2 separate regions of the Homo sapiens genome follow, and region 2 is linked to region 1. The links are contacts of gene promoters, found by promoter capture Hi-C in human tissues and cell types (Jung and others, 2019). All regions are on one chromosome and are shown on one strand. Each heading gives the region's core, a stretch centred on a gene start or on the middle of the fragment in contact. The rest is flanking DNA. Distances are from core to core; before and after follow the strand shown. Region 1 holds the start of POU4F1 (POU class 4 homeobox 1). Region 2 overlaps OBI1-AS1 (OBI1 antisense RNA 1).

What was found. Contacts are between HindIII fragments. The study calls those that stand out against the background at their distance.
Region 2: a contact is called between a fragment that was not itself captured here and the fragment with the promoter of POU4F1 in region 1, in 1 of the 25 tissues and cell types used here (aorta).

What each region holds. Positions count from the first base shown.
Region 1 is chr13:78,602,176-78,605,971 of GRCh38, reverse strand. POU4F1 (POU class 4 homeobox 1) reads left to right here and starts at 2,420. Exons shown (of 2, transcript NM_006237.4): 1 at 2,420-2,768; 2 at 3,421-3,796. The coding sequence starts at 2,646. OBI1-AS1 (OBI1 antisense RNA 1) reads right to left here. Exons shown (of 6, transcript NR_047001.1): 4 at 528-671. RefSeq lists a silencer at 2,470-2,629. The HindIII fragment of the contact is 11,230 bases long and covers 1-3,796 here.
Region 2 is chr13:78,562,578-78,566,373 of GRCh38, reverse strand. The region is part of intron 3 of OBI1-AS1 (OBI1 antisense RNA 1); the gene reads right to left. Among named protein-coding and RNA genes, the nearest start is that of POU4F1, 39 kb to the left of the region's middle. The HindIII fragment of the contact is 3,594 bases long and covers 241-3,796 here.

The DNA.
Region 1 (3,796 bases), core at 1,171-3,670:
CCTAGATGGGCTTCCTATCCATGGTGGGAGGGGGAGGGAGGATTGTACCCATAGCCCTCATGTTTCTGGTCCCATCAAAACACCCAATACCCCAAGCAAAGATCTGGCCTCACCCCAAGGTGGGGTATTCCTGTTGTCGAAAGAGAGGTGAACAGGGAAGGAAATCTTGGTGGGACTAACTCCTAACTTCAGGCTAAGGTGGCATCTCTCCGCTGGGTTTAATGGAAGCCTCCCAGGGTTGGAGGGTGAACCGAGGTGCCTTTTGGGTACTCAGGAGCTCACCTGGCTCTCAGAGGCCCCACCCGGCCGCAAACCTGTACTGTTTACCTTTCTGTTGCTCCTGTACCCTTCAGGGTCCCTAAAGACCAGCGCTTCCTTGAGAGGGGAGGGGCAGGTTCCAGGCCCTCACCCTCTGTGGGGGCCTTTTCTTTCCCGTCAAGAGAGAGCGCAGGGAACGGCCACCAGGGGTGTCAGGAAGGACTAGGTTAAGCCCGGACTCCCGGTGTGATGACTACCGTAGGACTCACTCTTTCCCTCTAGCGACGTCCTGCTCATCGTCCACTCCCCGTTGAGATAAAGTTGCATTTAGCGCTCCCAGGGGACTGCGTAATGGATGGAACCAGCTCCTTCTCTCACCAGCAAGTGAACATCCTTCTCACTTCCCTCTGGAGCTAGAAGGAAGGGAGGGGGTGGGGGGGAACATGAAAAGAAAGAAAGAAAAAGCCATGGTGACGCCTGTGGGCTCTTCTTGGAATCTGAGTAGGTGAGTGGGTATGCTAAACACACATGCATTTGTGCAGAGGAAAGATAAAATCCACGGGAACGCAAATTTAGGTTTATAGAAATGAGATCTGCTCTTTGGTGGAAATACAGACTTCCTTGGTGTGGGAGAGAACAGAAAGATTATCTGATTTCTGCTTTCCATAAGCAGCCCCTTGCTGCTCTCCAGCTCTCTTACCGCAGATGTGATAACATCTGGGCTGTTAGGTTATTATCACCGCGAGCAAGTGCTCCTTCCCTGGGGACTTTGGCACCTGAACTGTGGCTCCCCTGGGAGGCTCTTGATCTGCTACCACATAAGGGCCATATAACAGGTTGGCTAATTGATTTATTCTTTTTAGGTCTTAATTTCACAATAATTTTTTAAAAATTTAAAAACTGGACCAGAGCTTGTCCCCGTTCTTTCAAATTGGCTTGATTTAATATTTTTGAATCAAGCTTTCCTGTAAGTTAGTTTGATCTGTCTCCTATTGAAAAAAATATATATAAGCAGGCAGAGATATGAGGCAAAAAGCCAAAAAGATGGAAGGGAAAAGAAAGTTCTCTTTTCAACATCTTATTCCCTTTTCTCTGAAGCAGTTTTCCTGGAGTTCCCAGCATAAAGTGTGTGTGTGTGTGTGTGTGTGTGTGTGTGTGTGTGTACGCTGAGGGGAGGAAGGATCCCAACTACACCCTGTTAACTGTTTTTTCCTTTTGATTACTAGAAGCCTTAGATCACCCGGAGCTCGTTTGAAACGTGGGTTTGTACACGGTTGAAGGAGACAAACAATAAGAGAAATGCACAATTTCATTTCAACAGCTTTTCCCGAGTAGAAAGCACACGCTCCTTGTGGCTCCTAAGTGGCTGTCACTGGCGGTGCCTGACACAGTTATATTCACAACAACAACAAAAAAGTATGCGGAGGAAATTAAATTATATGGAAATCAATAGCGTCTGACTGCTTCAAACAAATGTCTGTCACCGCGATTATTCTCCAGGAACCTATTTATAAACCTTTAAAGAAACAGGTTCTTGCAGCAAAAGACAGCACCTTCTGCATTTCTGTGTTGTTATTTATACTGTATACAGAGGAATGCGCGGGCATAATTTAACGTAGAAATGTCCAGCTGTATACATTATACAACAGCTTGTTAGGCATCCCGAAGAGGAGGAATGCCTAAGTAATGCTCATATATTCAAGGCTTGCTATCAGGGAGAAGAAACATACACACATACACACACACGCACGCACACACACACACACACACACACATAGAGGGGCGTGCGCGCATCTCGTCTTTTTTATTCTAAAAGGTGCCCACCCTTAGACAATAGCTGGACCTTCTGATCTTTCCAGACCACGGTGGGAAAGGTGAGGCGGGCAGTGCGCATGCCCGGGTAGCTACAGGTGCATCACCTGCGCTGTCCTTGCTGGTGGTCACTATAAGAGCGGCTCCCACGCGCTGGTCGCGGCCGGACGAGCGCGCGCGCGCGCAGACGCACGGGGCCGCCGAGAAGGAGAGCGCGCGTCAGACAGACGGAGACAGCTGATGCCTGTCAGCGCGGTGGGGCCGCGAGCTCTCGCGAGAGCTCCCCGGGACGGCCGCGAGAAGTGGGGCTCAGGTGTTAGAGGAGTGCATCCCGTCGGCGCGCGGGGCTAGAGCTGTCGGAGAAGCGGGACCGCGAGGCCGGCGCGCGGCGCTCTGCGCGGTCAGAGGGAGCGCCTGGCAGCAGCAGGAGCAGCAGCAGCAGCCCGCGGCGGGGCCGCCGCCAGCCGCCGCGACCGCCGCGGCTGCAGCCTCCGAAGGGAGGCCGGGTGAGCCGGCGTACGCACTTTCCCGCGGACTTTCGGAGTGTTTGTGGATATACATGCCAAGCCGCCACGATGATGTCCATGAACAGCAAGCAGCCTCACTTTGCCATGCATCCCACCCTCCCTGAGCACAAGTACCCGTCGCTGCACTCCAGCTCCGAGGCCATCCGGCGGGCCTGCCTGCCCACGCCGCCGGTAAGCGCCCCACGCCCGCGGCCCCGGCCCGCGCGCCCGCCCCTCCCCGTCTCCGAAACGCTGCATGTCGGGGGCTGGTGTGTGCAGGTCCCGGTGCGGGGAACTGCGGGCAGGGGGTGTAGAGCAGTCCCGCAGCGAGGCACGTTTTGTCCGGCGGCCCTTAATGTCGTGTTCCTGTCTGCCTCTGCCTCCGCGTCAGGCGCCTGCGATCGGAGTAGGGAGCGCTGGGGCCAGGACTCTCGACTTCCCTCTACTTTCTCTGTTAATTTCACGCCTCAGAAAGGCAGTCTCTGTGCGTGCTCGGGTGTGTGACACGGGTCCCCAGCTGCGAGTTACATTTCCATTTCTTCTTTTCCCTCTTTTTCGTCTCCCACGCCCGTTTCCGGAATGTGTTCTTGTGTCCCCCTTTCTCCCTACTTCTGTCCCCCTCTCCACGCTCCCATCCCTTCTCGTCTGCCCCCTCCCTGGTCGTCAATGTGCCCCCTCTCCGTCTTTCCCGCTCTCCACTGCCCCCAAACCCGTTGTTATTTTGGTTGCTTTGTGTTTGCCCTTCGCATGCTGTGCTTTCCGGCCTGTGTGTGTGTTTCTTCTGTTGTTTTGTTTTGCTCTTTTGGTTTTGTGGTTTTTTTGGTTTGGTTTGTGTCGCCTGCAGCTGCAGAGCAACCTCTTCGCCAGCCTGGACGAGACGCTGCTGGCGCGGGCCGAGGCGCTGGCGGCCGTGGACATCGCCGTGTCCCAGGGCAAGAGCCATCCTTTCAAGCCGGACGCCACGTACCACACGATGAACAGCGTGCCGTGCACGTCCACTTCCACGGTGCCTCTGGCGCACCACCACCACCACCACCACCACCACCAGGCGCTCGAACCCGGCGATCTGCTGGACCACATCTCCTCGCCGTCGCTCGCGCTCATGGCCGGCGCGGGCGGCGCGGGCGCGGCGGCCGGCGGCGGCGGCGCCCACGACGGCCCGGGGGGCGGTGGCGGCCCGGGCGGCGGCGGCGGCCCGGGCGGCGGCCCCGGGGGAGGCG
Region 2 (3,796 bases), core at 788-3,287, 39 kb after region 1:
GCAATTATCCTGTCTCAGCCTCCCGAATAGCCGGGATTACAGGCGCCTGCCACCACGCCCAGCTAATTTCTGTATTTTTTAGTAGAGATGGGGTTTCATCATATTGGTCAGGCTGGTCTTGAACTCCTGACCTCAGGTCATCCACCTGCCTCAGCCTCCCAAAGTGCTGGGATTACAGGCTTGAGCCACCGCGCCCGGCCTGAATCACCGCACCCAGCCTGAATTTCCTCTTCTTATAATGGCACGAGTCATACTTAATTAGATCCCACCCATATAACCTATAATACCTTAATTACCTTTTTAAAGGCCCAGTGTCCAAATACAGTTACATTCTCAGGTACTGGAGATTAGGGCTTCAACATAGGAATTTTGGGGAAACACAATTTAGCCCATAACGCTATGCTAATTACTTTCCGTGGAGAGCCTATTATGTGTCAGCACTTTGAAGGCACTTCTATTAACACTAATTCTGACAGCAGCCCTGTAAATTAGGGTACAGTTGAAAATATACTCAAGGTAGTGAAGTGACTTATGTGAAATAAACCTCCAATGTGGTGCCTGAATATGAGCCCAGGTCAGCCTAACTTGATGAAACTTTGATGTTTATTTGATGGTGCAGAGGTCTTTCCTAGTCCTGTCTTTCCGGATAGTTGGGCTTGCAGGATACATGACCTCTGAGCAAGTGCTATGCTGCAGGAAATTAGTACACACTTATTTAAATTGTCAATCTCACTTTTTAAAAAAAATTTAGGCCGAACGTTTTTCTTGTTTCTTTTACATAACACTGGACCTCAACTTAGTTATTAGATTCCATGCAATCAAACTATCGTTCACAAATTTATCTCAATTTGATATTACTATCAGACATGCTCCCATTTAAACATTATTTTGGCCTCTGACTATGAATAAATGCAGTATTTAATGCACGTAAATATTTTATGATTAACTTTGGTTACTTGTATCATCTCAGTTCACTCTATAAATTCAGTCAGAGAAGAAATATTTTAGGCAAAATACTCAGCCTGAGATGTGAACAGAAATAACTTAAAATGGTTCTTTTGTACTATATAATGCAAATGTAACCTAGTTAAGATTTAAGAAATCAATAAACATCTTGAATTCAGGCAGAGTGTTAATACATCATGTTATGTTGTGGGATAATATTAGGTCTAATATACTTTGCCATTTCCAGTAATTCCTCCCTGGACTCCTCAGAAGGAGCTCCGTTATTCTAGTCTGATGGGTGGACCCTTTTGGGAAGCAGTATTGTAGTTGGCTAGTAGCCAGTTGTATTTCCTCAAACATCTTCCAACCCTCAAAAGCATTTTTCAAATTAGCTACGAAGTAAATAAAACCTGGTTGTCCGTCATTCTATGAGAAGCTGTCTTTTCAAGGAACACTTTGGGCCTTCCTTTCTTTTTTCAATCTTGATATTGATTTGCGTATTATTGAATTCTAATAATGATAGGCTTAGAGGTAGTTGAGCTTCCCTGGTAACTAGCTGGACATTTCCTTAGTTGTTATTAGCAAATGATATAAGTACACAAAAAACACTACAGTAAAACCTCAAAAAGCTGTAATGTTAAGAGAGTGGTTAATTGATTTAACCTGTGAGAAAAGCAGAACTCCTCCTCTCCTCAAAATGTATTTCTGGCTGTTTACCATTGTGTTTAAAATATTTTGTATAAATTTCCCATTTATAATAAATGTACAATAGGCATATACAGTACATATATTGCATATAATATAACAGATATAACAGACATAATAAGCTTGCCTATTCAGATCTTTGTTCAGCCTAAACATAAATTTGTAATAAATTTCTGTGGAACAATTGACTGACTGAATAAATGGGAAATAGAGGTAATAATACAGCTGACTTTGTACTGCTCTGAGAGCAGTGTGGACGTGTTTTAATTTGTTTTAAAGTTAGATCTCTGTTATCTTATTGTTTGCTTTTATCTTTCCAATATAAATGGAGATCAGGAAAAAATAAGGTTGATTGACTTGTTAGTTATTTGGGTTTATATATTAGTAACCAAGATTAGAGATTGGAATCATAATGGTCTGGGTTTGGATTACAGCTTTGCCACCTACTGTATAAGCTTGAATAAGTTGCTTAACCTTTCGGAGCTTTCTTTTTTTTAAAATTTATTTTTTATTTTATATTCTTGAGAATGAAAGAAAAAAGATGAGGCTCAACATGATTGAGACTTCTTTTACTATTGTTAAGATGGAGATAAAAAATAGTACCTACCAATAATTATTCTTGTAACGACTAAATGAGGCAATGGAATTAGAGGTCTTAGCCGGGTTCTGTCTATAACAAGACATCCATTATTGTCATTCTGCTCAATAGAATTCAGTGGGCTTTGTTTCCCTGTTCTATTTCCTTCTTTTTTGAACATTGGCTCTGATCCTGCTAAAGTCTGCCAGCTAGCTAGTGTTCCTCTTCTCTGTGTCAGATCCAGGTGAACTTCTGAGCTCCTTCCACTATATCCCACACTTCCTTTAGAAAAAATATTGATTGGAGAGACCAGCTTGATTTAAATCATTCTAGTAACTCGGGAACTTGGCACAAAAGTAGTTTTCCAGGTGGCAAAGGGGTACAGGTATGGAATTACATGCATTCCTCCCACTATAGTTTACTTTTACACTCTGATTCTGACAGAAAAATGGAGAAAAAATTTGATGATATCTTTCTTACAATTAATTCTACAGAATCAATGTGCCATTGTTTGCATTTTCAGTTTTTTTCTCCAGATTAAGTTATCCAATTTCTCAGGAATTCTATTTCTAATTCCCCATCAGCCCTTCCCTCCCACAGGTTTCCTCTCCAGCTAAAGATACTAGAGTTCTACATATCTGAGTAACTTCTATGGTAAGGGAGGATTGTGTGCTGTCCACAAACACAGTGATTTAAATGAGGTTAAGTCTATTACAGACTTCATCATGAGCAAGGAAAACAAACCAAAGATGTTAAACATATGATCCACAACACAGGTACCATATTTCTTTAATCTGTTCTTAGTTACACCACATACATCAAAGCTAGGACACAGGAGGACTGGCCAAGATGCTCAGCTCTTTCTATTGCTGGGAGTTCTGCATGGCTCCTTGGTGATCAGAGAGGTAAACCATTTCCTTACCTTCTATCTTCACAACTTATAATACTACTAGGATCATAGCCTGTTCCATTAGGGTTTACGTACTCCAGTTTCCTGAGGTGATATCCTGACGTGTATGAGAAATGGCAGTACAGTAAGCATCACATTCACAAAAAAATGGATTTTGAAGTAAAAATACTGGGTATGCATATTAACTCATACATATTAGTTTCCACTGCCTCATCTTTTTTTCTCTTATCCTTTGCCTCATGTGCATGATGGCTTGAAGGGAGGGAGGAAATGTGGCTACAATAGCACTTGCCTTATAGGATTGTGAGAATTAAATAAAACAATGCTTAGGTACATTGAGTTCATCCACCCATCTATGCATTTATCCACCCATCCATCCATCCTCTATTTATTCAGTCAATATTTCTGTGAACCCACCATGTGCCAGGCACTGTGTATAGTGCCCTAAGGTAGAGAATGACAGGTAGGCAGCACAGTTTCCTTTCCCCTGGCCTTGTATTATGGTAATTAAACTCCAAAGGTATAGCCAGAGAAATGAAGCTTTGATCCAGGAATAAGGTACAAAGTTCAAACCAGAATCTCGCTTGTCTGCCCTGCCCCATGGCTCTGACAGCCCTGAGCAGAGTTGACAAGCCTTCCCCGTTTTATTCACAGGAATT